3 separate regions of the Homo sapiens genome follow, and regions 1 and 2 are each linked to region 3. The links are contacts of gene promoters, found by promoter capture Hi-C in human tissues and cell types (Jung and others, 2019). All regions are on one chromosome and are shown on one strand. The core of a region is centred on a gene start or on the middle of the fragment in contact, and the rest is flanking DNA. Distances in the headings are between cores, read along the strand shown. Region 1 overlaps ELMO2 (engulfment and cell motility 2). Region 2 has its middle 52 kb from the start of ELMO2. Region 3 holds the start of CD40 (CD40 molecule).

What was found. Contacts are between HindIII fragments. The study calls those that stand out against the background at their distance.
Region 1: a fragment that was not itself captured here is called in contact with the fragment with the promoter of CD40 in region 3 in 1 of the 25 tissues and cell types used here (lymphoblastoid cells).
Region 2: a contact is called between a fragment that was not itself captured here and the fragment with the promoter of CD40 in region 3, in 2 of the 25 tissues and cell types used here (dorsolateral prefrontal cortex and lymphoblastoid cells).

Annotation. Positions count from the first base shown.
Region 1 is chr20:46,402,628-46,406,039 of GRCh38, reverse strand. The region is part of intron 1 of ELMO2 (engulfment and cell motility 2); the gene reads left to right. Among named protein-coding and RNA genes, the nearest start is that of ELMO2, 2.3 kb to the left of the region's middle. RefSeq lists an enhancer at 1-244. The HindIII fragment of the contact is 5,740 bases long and covers 1-3,412 here.
Region 2 is chr20:46,456,423-46,459,988 of GRCh38, reverse strand. It overlaps the pseudogene ZNF663P. Among named protein-coding and RNA genes, the nearest start is that of ELMO2, 52 kb to the right of the region's middle. RefSeq lists enhancers at 271-810, 811-1,351. The HindIII fragment of the contact is 4,421 bases long and covers 1-3,566 here.
Region 3 is chr20:46,116,483-46,119,926 of GRCh38, reverse strand. CD40 (CD40 molecule) reads right to left here and starts at 1,613. Exons shown (of 9, transcript NM_001250.6): 1 at 1,533-1,613. The coding sequence starts at 1,583. RefSeq lists enhancers at 391-740, 1,751-1,810, 1,576-2,392, a silencer at 1,615-1,834 and a cis regulatory region at 334-2,431. The HindIII fragment of the contact is 12,179 bases long and covers 1-3,444 here.

The DNA of each region.
Region 1 (3,412 bases), core at 769-3,268, 290 kb before region 3:
CTCCTGCGCTCACCCTTGAGTTCAGGCCCCTCTCGCTTCCTGCCTGGGCAGTTGCAGTGTGTTAACTGGTCTGCCCTGCGCAGGCACAGGGGCCCTTCTCCTGTCGGCCTTGCACCGTGCCCAGAGAAACCTTTCCTTTTTTTTTGAAACCTTTCCGAGACGGAGTCTCGCTCTGCCGCCCAGGCTGGAGTGCAATGGCGCGATCTCGGCTCACAGCAACCTCCGCCTCCCAGGTTCCAGCTATTCTCCTGCCTCAGCCTCCCAAGTAGCTGGGATTACGGGCGCCTGCCACCACGCCCAGCTAATTTTTGTATTTTTAGTAGAGACGGGGTTTCACCGTGTTAGGCTGGTCTCGAACTCCTGACCTCAAGTGATCCGCCCGTCTCGGCCTCCCAGAGTGCTGGGATTACAGGCGTGAGCCACCGCGCCCAGCCGAGAAATGCAGAGCAGATCTGGATGCTTAGGGCATGAAACTGGCCCGGCGTCCCACCCCTTTGTAGGGTCAGATCCAGAACCTCACCCAGGCCCTGGAGATCCGGTCCCGCTGACCTCTCCCAAGTCTGTCTACTCGTCCGTCCGCTTGCTCAGTGCTCTCCACACACTGGCCTCTTTCTGTTCCTTCTACATCCCAAGCTCCTGCCTTCCTTGGGGCCTTTTATTTAGTATTCCTCCTCCCTGGTCTGCTCTTCCTCCCCTGGCTTAGTCTTGTAAACTCTTCTTCATCCTTCAGATCTCCGCTTAAGCATCACTTCTGCAGGGGAGGCATCCCTGTCCCTGACTTTTCGACCAGTACCCCACGTTTATCACCCTGGGTACTTGTCCTTAACAACACTTGCACAACTGCAATTTTACATTTATTTACAAAAGTATTGATATTTCTCTGTCCATCCCACCAGATTGTAAGGTCCACGAAGAAGATAGTGTCGGTTTTGCTTCATGTAGTATCTCTAGCATCTCACACAGGGCCAGGCAATATAAATATTTACCAAATAAATAGATGCAGGGTTTGAATTTGGCAAGAGGAAGGGGATGTGAATCGTGGTCACTGATGTCCTACCTGCAGGGGAATGAAACTGACATTTGGAATGCTTTTTGTGTGCCAGGCTCTATGCTAGAGTGATGCTGCTGTCTAATAGAAATGTAATGTGAGCCATAGATATAATTTTAAATTTTCTAGTAGCCACATTAAAAAATGGAACAGCTGAAATTATTTTAGTAATATATTTAACACAATATATTCCAAAATTATATTATTATAACATAATCAATATTAAAACATTATTAATGGGATATTTTACGTTCTTGTTTTTTGTACTAAGTTTTTGAAACCTGGTTTGTATTTTACACAGAGGGCAGCCTGTGCCACTTTTCAAGTGCTTAGTAACCACCTATGGCCAGGGATTGTGGTATTGGGCTGTACAGTGTCACACACTTTGTATACCCTCTAGAGTCTTTTGAGATAACTGTTGTTATCTGCACTTTACTGATATCGATAGTGAAGCTTCTAAAAGAGGTTGCCTGCCGGGGATAATTCTAGAGTTTGTAAGTGGAGGAGGTGAGATTAGGACCTCTATCTGTTCATCTTCAGTCTGGTCTTTCTATATATCTGATGTGGACTCTAGGAGGTGCAAAGGAAGTTTGAGGGTACAGGAAGTCAGGACCAAACTTCTTTAAAAACTTCAGTGTACAGCATATTCTAGCTTGTTCTGTGCTCAGATAATGTGTCCAGATGTAGCAGTACCACCTGCCAAGGTGGCTCAGCAAGAAGCATATTTGATGCAGTTGAAGAAAACCCTGCAAGGCAAGTCCTTTGACCTGGTCACCATACCTCGGCCCAGCCTGGACTAAGTCTGGTCCCAGGACCTGGATAGAAAAAAACACATACCATGCAGCATCTCAGAGGTGCTGAGAATACTAGGCTTGAGTTTATAGCCTGGCTTTTCTATTTTTTTTTTGAGATGGAGTTTTACTCTTGTCGCCCAGGCTGGAGTGCAATGGTGCCATCTCGGCTAACTGCAACCTCCACCTCCCACGTTCAAGCGATTCTTGTGCCTCAGCCTCCTGAGTGGCTGGGATTACAGGTGCCTGCCACCGTGCCCGGCTGATTTTTGTATTTTTAGTAGAGACGGGGTTTCACCATGTTGGCCAGGCTGGTATTGAACTCCTGATCTCAAGTGACCCGCCCACCTCAGCCTCCCAAAGTTCTGAGATTACAGGCGTGAGCCACGGCGCCCGGCCTACAGCCCCAGTTCAGCAATTGCTCACTGAGTATCTACCACGTGACCAGCACTGTTGTAAGCCATTTTTGGTGATTGGGCGGTGTATGTCATAGCCTTCATCTTCAGGATGCTTCAGGTATACTTGGAAAGACAAGACTGGATCACATAAAATGACTAGATGGTATGCAAGGCATCATGAGGTGTAATGAAGAGCCAGAATCAGTATGGGCTGGAGGCTGCAAAGTGGCTGTCTTGGCCAAGCTGCATGATGTGTTTTTAAAAATGTTGGATTTAAACTCCTCTAGGCAAGGTGGTACTTTGCAGTGTTACAGACCCTACATGGAGGCTGCTTGTTTTATTTACTTACCTGCTTGGCTGCCCAAGACATTTGAATTTATAACCCTATTAGGCATGCTATGCTGGTTTCATGTGAGTCACTAGAAAATATTTGTTGAGCACTTCTTATTTGCCAGGCATTGTATTAGCTGCTGCTTTGGAACTGATCATAACATTTTCCAAAGTTCTTCCACTGGGAAATAGTAATAATAATAGTGGAACACCAACAAATGCTTTGCCTTTTGTATTGACTTTCCTCCCGGACTGCCTTCACATATGCTCTCTTATTTTGTCAACAATACACAACATACCTGCCTAGCAGGTAGGGCTTACTGTGTTGGGGAAACGTGGTTTCAGAGCTTTTGCAGTTTCTTCAGGTTCACACGGTTAGAATTCTGCTATTATGCTTAGTGCTTTATTATCCCACTTGATGCTCACAACAGCTTTACGGGGTAGAGTTGATGCTAATCCCCATTTTACAGGTAAGAAAATCGTTAGTGCTAAGATCCAAGTTCAGGCCTTTCCCACTCCAGAACACAGCTCCTAACTTGTTAAGCTACACTTCCTCACTAGAAGGCCAAAGTTGGAAGAAAGCTCAAAAACATCTAGTCCAGCCCCCGATGTAGATCAGGACCTGAGGTCCAGAAAGGCTTGTGTTTGTGGCAAAGCTGTGCTGCAGGAGGAGGACTAAACCAGAAGTGGGGGCCTAGGCCTTCTTTTGTCCCTAACTGGTGGCATGGCCTTGCCAGCTTCTCTGGACTTCAGTTCCCTTATTTATGTAATGAAAGGGCTTGGCCTGATTTTACACTGAGAACAATGCTGTGCTGTTATGGTCAGTATTGAAGGAGTTCACAGCC
Region 2 (3,566 bases), core at 364-2,863, 340 kb before region 3:
TTAAAATATTTCAAAATAAAAAGTGTAAAAGGGTAAGAAAATTATTAACAACATGTTCAATGAAAAGACCCAAATCACTCATTGAGATTTTGGGGTCCCATTTCAATATCATCTAACATTGGCCATGGTCATCTCTGGAAGGGGAGATTCTGAGTGTGCTTCTTAGATGAAATTTTCCTTTGATTTATGTGTATTTGCCATTATGTGAGGCTTTTACTTTTGAAATCCAGTTTCAGGTGGAGGTAATATTTGCATTCTGCGGAAAAAGCTTTCTGGTCGTGGTTATTAATCTTTTACTTATTGCTTTGCTTTATTTTCTATAAATATTCCACTATGTTGCTTGGCTTTCATTAATTTTGTTTTCAGATGTGCAGTTGACAAACTCCTTTCCTTCTCACGGTAGCTTTGCCTCTGAAGTGACACTGATTGTAAGTGGAGTGCATGCAAATCTCCTACCTGGTGGGTTATGAGGAACTAGGGCTCCAAATAAAAGTAAAGATGACTTTGGACCACAAATCCCCCAACTTGCCAAGTAAGCCAGAAACTCTTCAGACGTTCCTTAAGGAAGGGGGCGCGGAGACTTGTGGGAAACGGAGTCTGGAAGTTGATGGATCGCCCCGGCAGGGCCCCGGGAACCGGTCTTTGGCAGCCCCGTCTGCGCATGTGCAGACTTCCTCCTTGTTCCTTACTCCTGTCTCTGATCAGCGTGGAGCCTCCGCGTCTACGCGTAACTCAGCGACCAGGTGCTGCACTAACGATGCGCTCCGCAGGTGAGAGCCTAGCTTGGAGGGTTGCTTTGCGGGGCTTGGGGTAGGTTTGTGTTCACAGCCTGTGGAAGCAAAAACTTGCGCAAATCCCACGCGGGTTGAGACCCTCTGGCACTTGTTCCCGAGTCTGCCCTGCATCTGTCCGTCTAGAAAGCAAGTGACGGAGGAGGAGGTCCGCTGCGGATCTGCAGGTGCCACGAAGAAGATAAGGGCGGAGGGAACAGGTTTCCTGATCAGAATAAAGGGCTCCGGGAAAAGGCATTCACATGTTAAAAGAGCTGTTTCCAGAAGCTCCTCTAACTCGCAGGTGCCCTGGGCAACCATTCATCAGCTGGTCAAACCCACTACTCCAGCGGGGATGAGAACAATTCTTACAAAGTTTACTTTATGCTGTACTATCATTCCTACCTTAGCAAGCCTTATTGCAGATGCAGAGCCTGAGTTTGAAAGTAAGACGAGTTCACATCCTAGGTCTGTCACTGGCTCTCCATGAACACAGTGATGAACCTAAACTCTAAGACTCAATTTCCCCATCTGTAAAATGAAGTTATTTCTAAAACCTGCTTCAGGGTCGTTCTGAGTGTTGAATAAGAGAGCACCTCTAAAGCACTCCGCACAGGTCCTGACATTTTCTAAGCACTCTGGAAATGCGGCCTGCCTTTCCCACTGTTCTTTTCACTCGGTGTGTCATTTGATTCTCAAAGACCCCCTGTAAAGTCGGTGTTACCCACCCTATTTTAACTGAGAAGAAAACCAAGACTCTGGAGGTGAAGTCACATGGCTAGCAAGTGAAGGATCTGGGATGCAAGCCTCAGTTTTATTTCCAAATCGCATGCTTCACAGCACTTAGCAGAGTGGCATGTCTCTATGGGCCAACCGGAGTGTGTAAGGACTGAGCCTTCCCTTAAGGATCTTGGAGATTTCTTGGTATCTCTGCAGAACCCTGGGGGTACTGTGTAACTGAGGCCTCTGGGAAACTCAAGGTCCATCTGTTTGTGCCCTCCACAGTTCTCAGGTTCCCAAGGGAGATTTGCAGGCAGTGGTTTTCAAACTCGCATGCATCCGTATCACCTGAAGGGCCTGTTAAACCCCACCCCACGACTGGGCCCCACACCCAGCGTTTCTGATTCAGTAGGTCTGGGGAGAGCCCCAAGGATTTGCCTTTCTATTTAGTTCCCAGGTGATGCTGATGCTGCCAGTCCAGGGTCCACACTGAAAGCCTCTGTTGTAGGAGATAGTGAACTCCAAGAGAGAGTTGGAACCGGCTGAAGGTCCCAGTTATCTGAATTTATTCCCTCTCTCCCCAGCCAGGGTCACCCTGCTCCTGTGAGGAGGGGACGCCAGAAGCAGGAATCTCGCCTGGGAGGTTCCCACCCTCTGATAAAACGCACACAGCTGCACCAAGGACGTCTGGGAAAACAGGCAAGTCTGTAAGCGCTTGCTCTTGAAGCAATTCCCGATTCTTCCGCCCTGAATAACTCATCATGTCGGAGGTTGCCAAGAACCGTCGGTCAACGAAGGTGTGGGCCAGCTGTCACAGGACAGAGGTGAGCTGGGCTGAGGATGGCGAGCTGGACTGAGGATGGTGGGCAGGAGGCCGGCTGCGGGGGAGGAGGAACTCCCAGGTGAGTACCTGGTGCGCATGACGGGGAAGATACTATCACCACTCCTCTCGGAAACTCCTCCCATGCCCCTAATTCTTCAACCCCTCTTCCTAGATTTCTGCAGAGCCCTCAAACCCCACCCATCTCCACATCTGGAATTTAGGGACATGCTACCCACTACCTACTCTTGACTTTATAGGAGTACGGGGAAGCTTTTCAGCGGTTATGTAATTGTGCCTCATTTTAAAAGTGAAAAATATTAACACAGTGCTCAAGTGAATGGATCTGGGGCCGGATTGCCCGGGTTCAAAGCCCAGCTCCACCACATTGCTCAGTCTTCCCCTCGCTTTCCTATTCTATGAAATGGAAGTCATAATAGTAGCTATGCTTGGCTTTATTTTAAAGGTTAAATGAAGGAAGACATACAAAGTACTTAGAACAAGTCCTGTTATATAGTAACTACTATACAAGTATTGTCAGTATTTTTTTTTTGAGACGGAGTCTCGCAGTGTTGCCCGGGCAACACTATGAAGGAGAGAAACACTATGAATGTAATGAATTTGGAAAATTTAGCAAGAAATCAAACTTTACCCAACATCAAAGAATGTACACAGGAGAAAAACCTGATGAGTGTAAAGAAAATGAGAAAGCCTTGAAGAAGTTATACCATACTCAAAATGAGAGAACTCATGCAGGAGAGAAAGTCTATGATTGTAAGAAATGTGGGAAATTCTTTCATGAAAAAGCATGCCTTACTCAACATCAGAGAACCCACACAACAGGAAAACCCAGCAAGTGTAATGATAGTGAAAGAGTCTTGAAGGAATCTTGCCTCACTCCCAATCAGAGAATTAAAACAAGATTAAAACAAGAGAGAAAAACTGTAAAGGTAATAAATGTGAGAAACCTTTCTTTGAGAAGTTGAAACACACTCAACATCAGAGAAGGCACTTGGGGAAAAAAAATAATGGGCGTAATGAAAGTGGGGTGCCTCAAGTAGGAAGTCACAACTTACACAAAGCCAGAGAGCTCACAAAAAAAGAGAAAACCTATGACTGCAATAAATGTGGAGAAAGCTTCTGTAAGAAAACAGATCTCAGATAGCATCAGAGCACACACACACGGAAGAAAACCCTATGAATGTAATGAATGTGAAAAATCCTTCTTTGTGAAGTCCAACTACGCTGAACATCAG
Region 3 (3,444 bases), core at 364-2,863:
CCTAAAAGTCTGTCAATCTCCAGTTCTCACTCCCCATAGTTCTGGTCCTTCTGCCACAAAACAGCTCAGGACCAGAGCTTGGAGACTCTCACTATCTGAGAGGCAGGCTCGGGAATCATGCAGATGTAGATTCACAACCAGGTTCTTCCATTAGCTAGCTATGAGACCTTTGGCAAGACAATCCCCCTTTCTGAGCCTCAATTTGCCCATCTGTATAATGGGGGAGTTGTGAGAAATCAGACAAAGAAAACAGGCAGTGTTTGGCTCAGAGCCTGACACACAAGAAGCCCTCAATAGATAGCTTCTGACATTGTTGTCACAGCCCAGCCTCTACCTGGAGCCAAAGTTGGGAGTTATGAGGGCAAACTCTGCTCTTGAGAAGCCTGGATCACACCCTTCACCCCACCTCCTCTGGCTCTTTCTCCACTCCTACCACAAGGGCCCCCCTTTACCTCTTTCCAGCTCCGCCCTCCCCCTGCCTCCCTGTTCCCTAAGAGCCATTGCTTCAGGTGAAAGTGAAAGCTGTGGGACCAAAGCAGCCTCCCCACTCCCTCTCTTCCCTTGCTGCTTCCCTTGCTTTCCTTGATACCATGGGTCATTCCTGCCCAGGCTTCAGGCAGGAATCTACAGCCCTCTAAAGTAGGGGGAGGCCAGAGGGGCTGGGATGAAGGAGCCAGGTACTTGGGGGATTCCCAGCCTCCAGAATGAGGAACTACAAAAATACATTTAAACAAAAAGTGAGTCAAGTGTAGGCTTCTGAAAATCCCGGAGATATGCTTGGTTGGCTCTGAGCCCCTCTGGTGCCTGGAGAAACCCCTGGTTTCTCCAGCCCTCTGATCACCAGCCCTGTCAGAGCCAACCAGAACTCTGGTCTCCTAACCCTTTATTGTGTCCCATAAACTGTTCATCTCCCCAGGGGTCTCCTATGTCATCTTAAATTCAGGAGAAAAAGGCAAAGCCCTGGGGATTCCTCCTAGGTTGGAACACCCAAGATACGGTTCGGGGTGGAAGGCGATGTTAAAAGCTCCTTGCCTTCTCACAAAAGTACCTGGGCCTCTGCACCCATCTCTTGTTCCCACAAGATGCCCTGGAAGAAGGCAGCCCCAGCTGGCAAGGAGATGATAACTACTTACAGAGGCTGGCATCTGTCCACAATAAGAAGGGGACAGGAAACGGGCCAGACCCGCCCCTTCCCTTGGTCCGCCTCACTTCCCGCCCTCTGAACCCCCTACCAGTCTCTGTGTGGCCAGCCTCTGAGGCTCCCTAAACCCGTCCAGGCCGTCTAGGCACGCTTGGGCAGCCAGTGCCTTCCCTGAGCGGCCCCTGTAGGCCGCTCCCGGGACCCCAGCCCGGGAGAAGAGAGAGGCAGCCCACCCCATTCAGCCAGGAGCGGGGGCACCTTGCCCAGCTCCCACCCACCCTCCTGCCCCCACAAAAATCAGCCAGGAAGGCCTCTTCCCCGAAGTCTTCCTTCCCTTTCCTTCTCATTCCCCACTCCCAACTCCCGTCTGGTCGGGGCAAAAACAACTCACAGCGGTCAGCAAGCAGCCCCAGAGGACGCACTGCAGAGGCAGACGAACCATAGCGAGGTGAGACCAGGCGGCAGGACCACTGGGCGCCCGAGCGAGGCCTCTGCTGACTCCCCTGCCCCAGCCTTGGCCCCGCCCAGGAAAGGGGCGGGGTCTTCAAAGACCAATCGCGGTCCACCTATCGGGGGGGCGGAGCCCCCAGCAATTCACCGCGCAGGAGTTTCCCCAGAACATTCCCACAAGTCTAATTCCCCCGGGAGTTTAGGGACGCATCTTGCTGTGTACGGGAGGAGGCATGGTCCCAGAGACAGCTCTTCTTCTTTGCCCCCAGGTCCCACAAAGGCCAAGCCGAGGCGGGCTAGGAGCTAGCCTGCTTCCTGCGACCGGAGAGAGATCCCATGGGTGCTGGGGCCTGCCACAGGGACCCTCACGGTTTTCCCCTCCCTGCCCCGCTCTCCGCTGCCTCTAGGTATCCTGGCAGAACCGAAAGAGGCTCCACTGCGGAGAGGCCTGAGGAAGTTCCCCCCACACCACCACGCAGAAAACGGGAAGGCCACAGCTGGGGTATGGGGAGGCGTTTCAAGGAAGAGTTTCCCAACTCAGAATTTCGCTCTCTTTCAAAGGAAATTCCCTCGTGTGGGCGCGTCGTCTCAACTTCCCATCCATTCATCCATGCATCCATGCGTCCTCACCTCATTCCATTCCATCCCACCTCCCACCCAGCACCTGGAGACAGGCATTTATTAAGAGTGGGGCCGGGCGCGGTGGCTCACGCCTGTAATCCAGCACTTTAGGAGGCCGAGGCGGGCAGATCACTTGAGGTCAGGAGTTCGAGACCAACCTGGCCAACATAGTGAAACTCCGTCTCTACTAAAAATACAAAAATTAACCGGATGTAGTGGCGTTCGCCTGTAATCCCAGCTACTCGGGAGGCTGAGGCAGGAGAATCGCTTGAACCGCAGAGGCAGAGATTGCAATGAGCCGAGATCGTGCCACTGCACTCCAGCCTCGAAGGCAGAGCAAGACTCAGTCTCAAAAAAAAAAAAAATAAATAATAAATAAAAATAAAAATAAAGGTGGGGGCCAGGCGCGGTGGCTTACGCCTGTAATCTAACACTTTGGAAGGCCAAAAAGGGAGATTGCTTGAGGCCAGGAGTTCAAGACCAGCCTGGCAACATGGCAAGACCCCCATCTCTACAAAATAAAGAAATTTTTAAGTTAGCCAGGCATGGTGGCAAACACCTGTAGTCCCAGCTACTCAGGAGGCTGAGGCAGGAGGATCGCTTGAGCTCAAGAAGTCAAGGTTGCAGTGAGCCATGATTGCAATGATTACATCACTGCACTTCAGCCTGGGCGACAGTGCAAAACTCCATCTCAAAAAAAAAAAAAGAGTGGGCCAGCCTTTTGTGGCATCATAAAACACTTTAAGTATGTTAGGAAACTCGGGACCCTCTCATTTTGCAGAAACACACACACTTGTGCCTACATTTCCTGGGTTCATGAACTCTGAAGACGTGCTTTTGTTTTTTTGTTTTTTGTTTCGTTTTGTTTTTTGGGTGTTTGTTTGGTTTTTGGTTTTTGGGTTTTTTTTGACAGAGTCTCATTCTGTTGCCCAGGCTGGAGTGCAGTGGCATGATCTCGGCTCACTGCAACCTCTGCCTCCTGGGTTCAAGCAATTCTCCTGCCTCAGCCTCCCGAGTAGCTGGGATTACAGGCTGGCGCCACCACGCCCAGCTAATTTTTGTATTTTTAGTAGAGACGGGGTTTCTCCACGTTGGCCAGGCTGGTCTCAAACTCCTGACCTCAGGTGATCCGCCTGCCTTGGCCTCCCAAAGTGCTGAGATTACAGGCATGAGCCACCGCACCTGGCCCTCAAGATGTTCTTGAACCAGTGTTAACACTCTGCTTTGCAGCA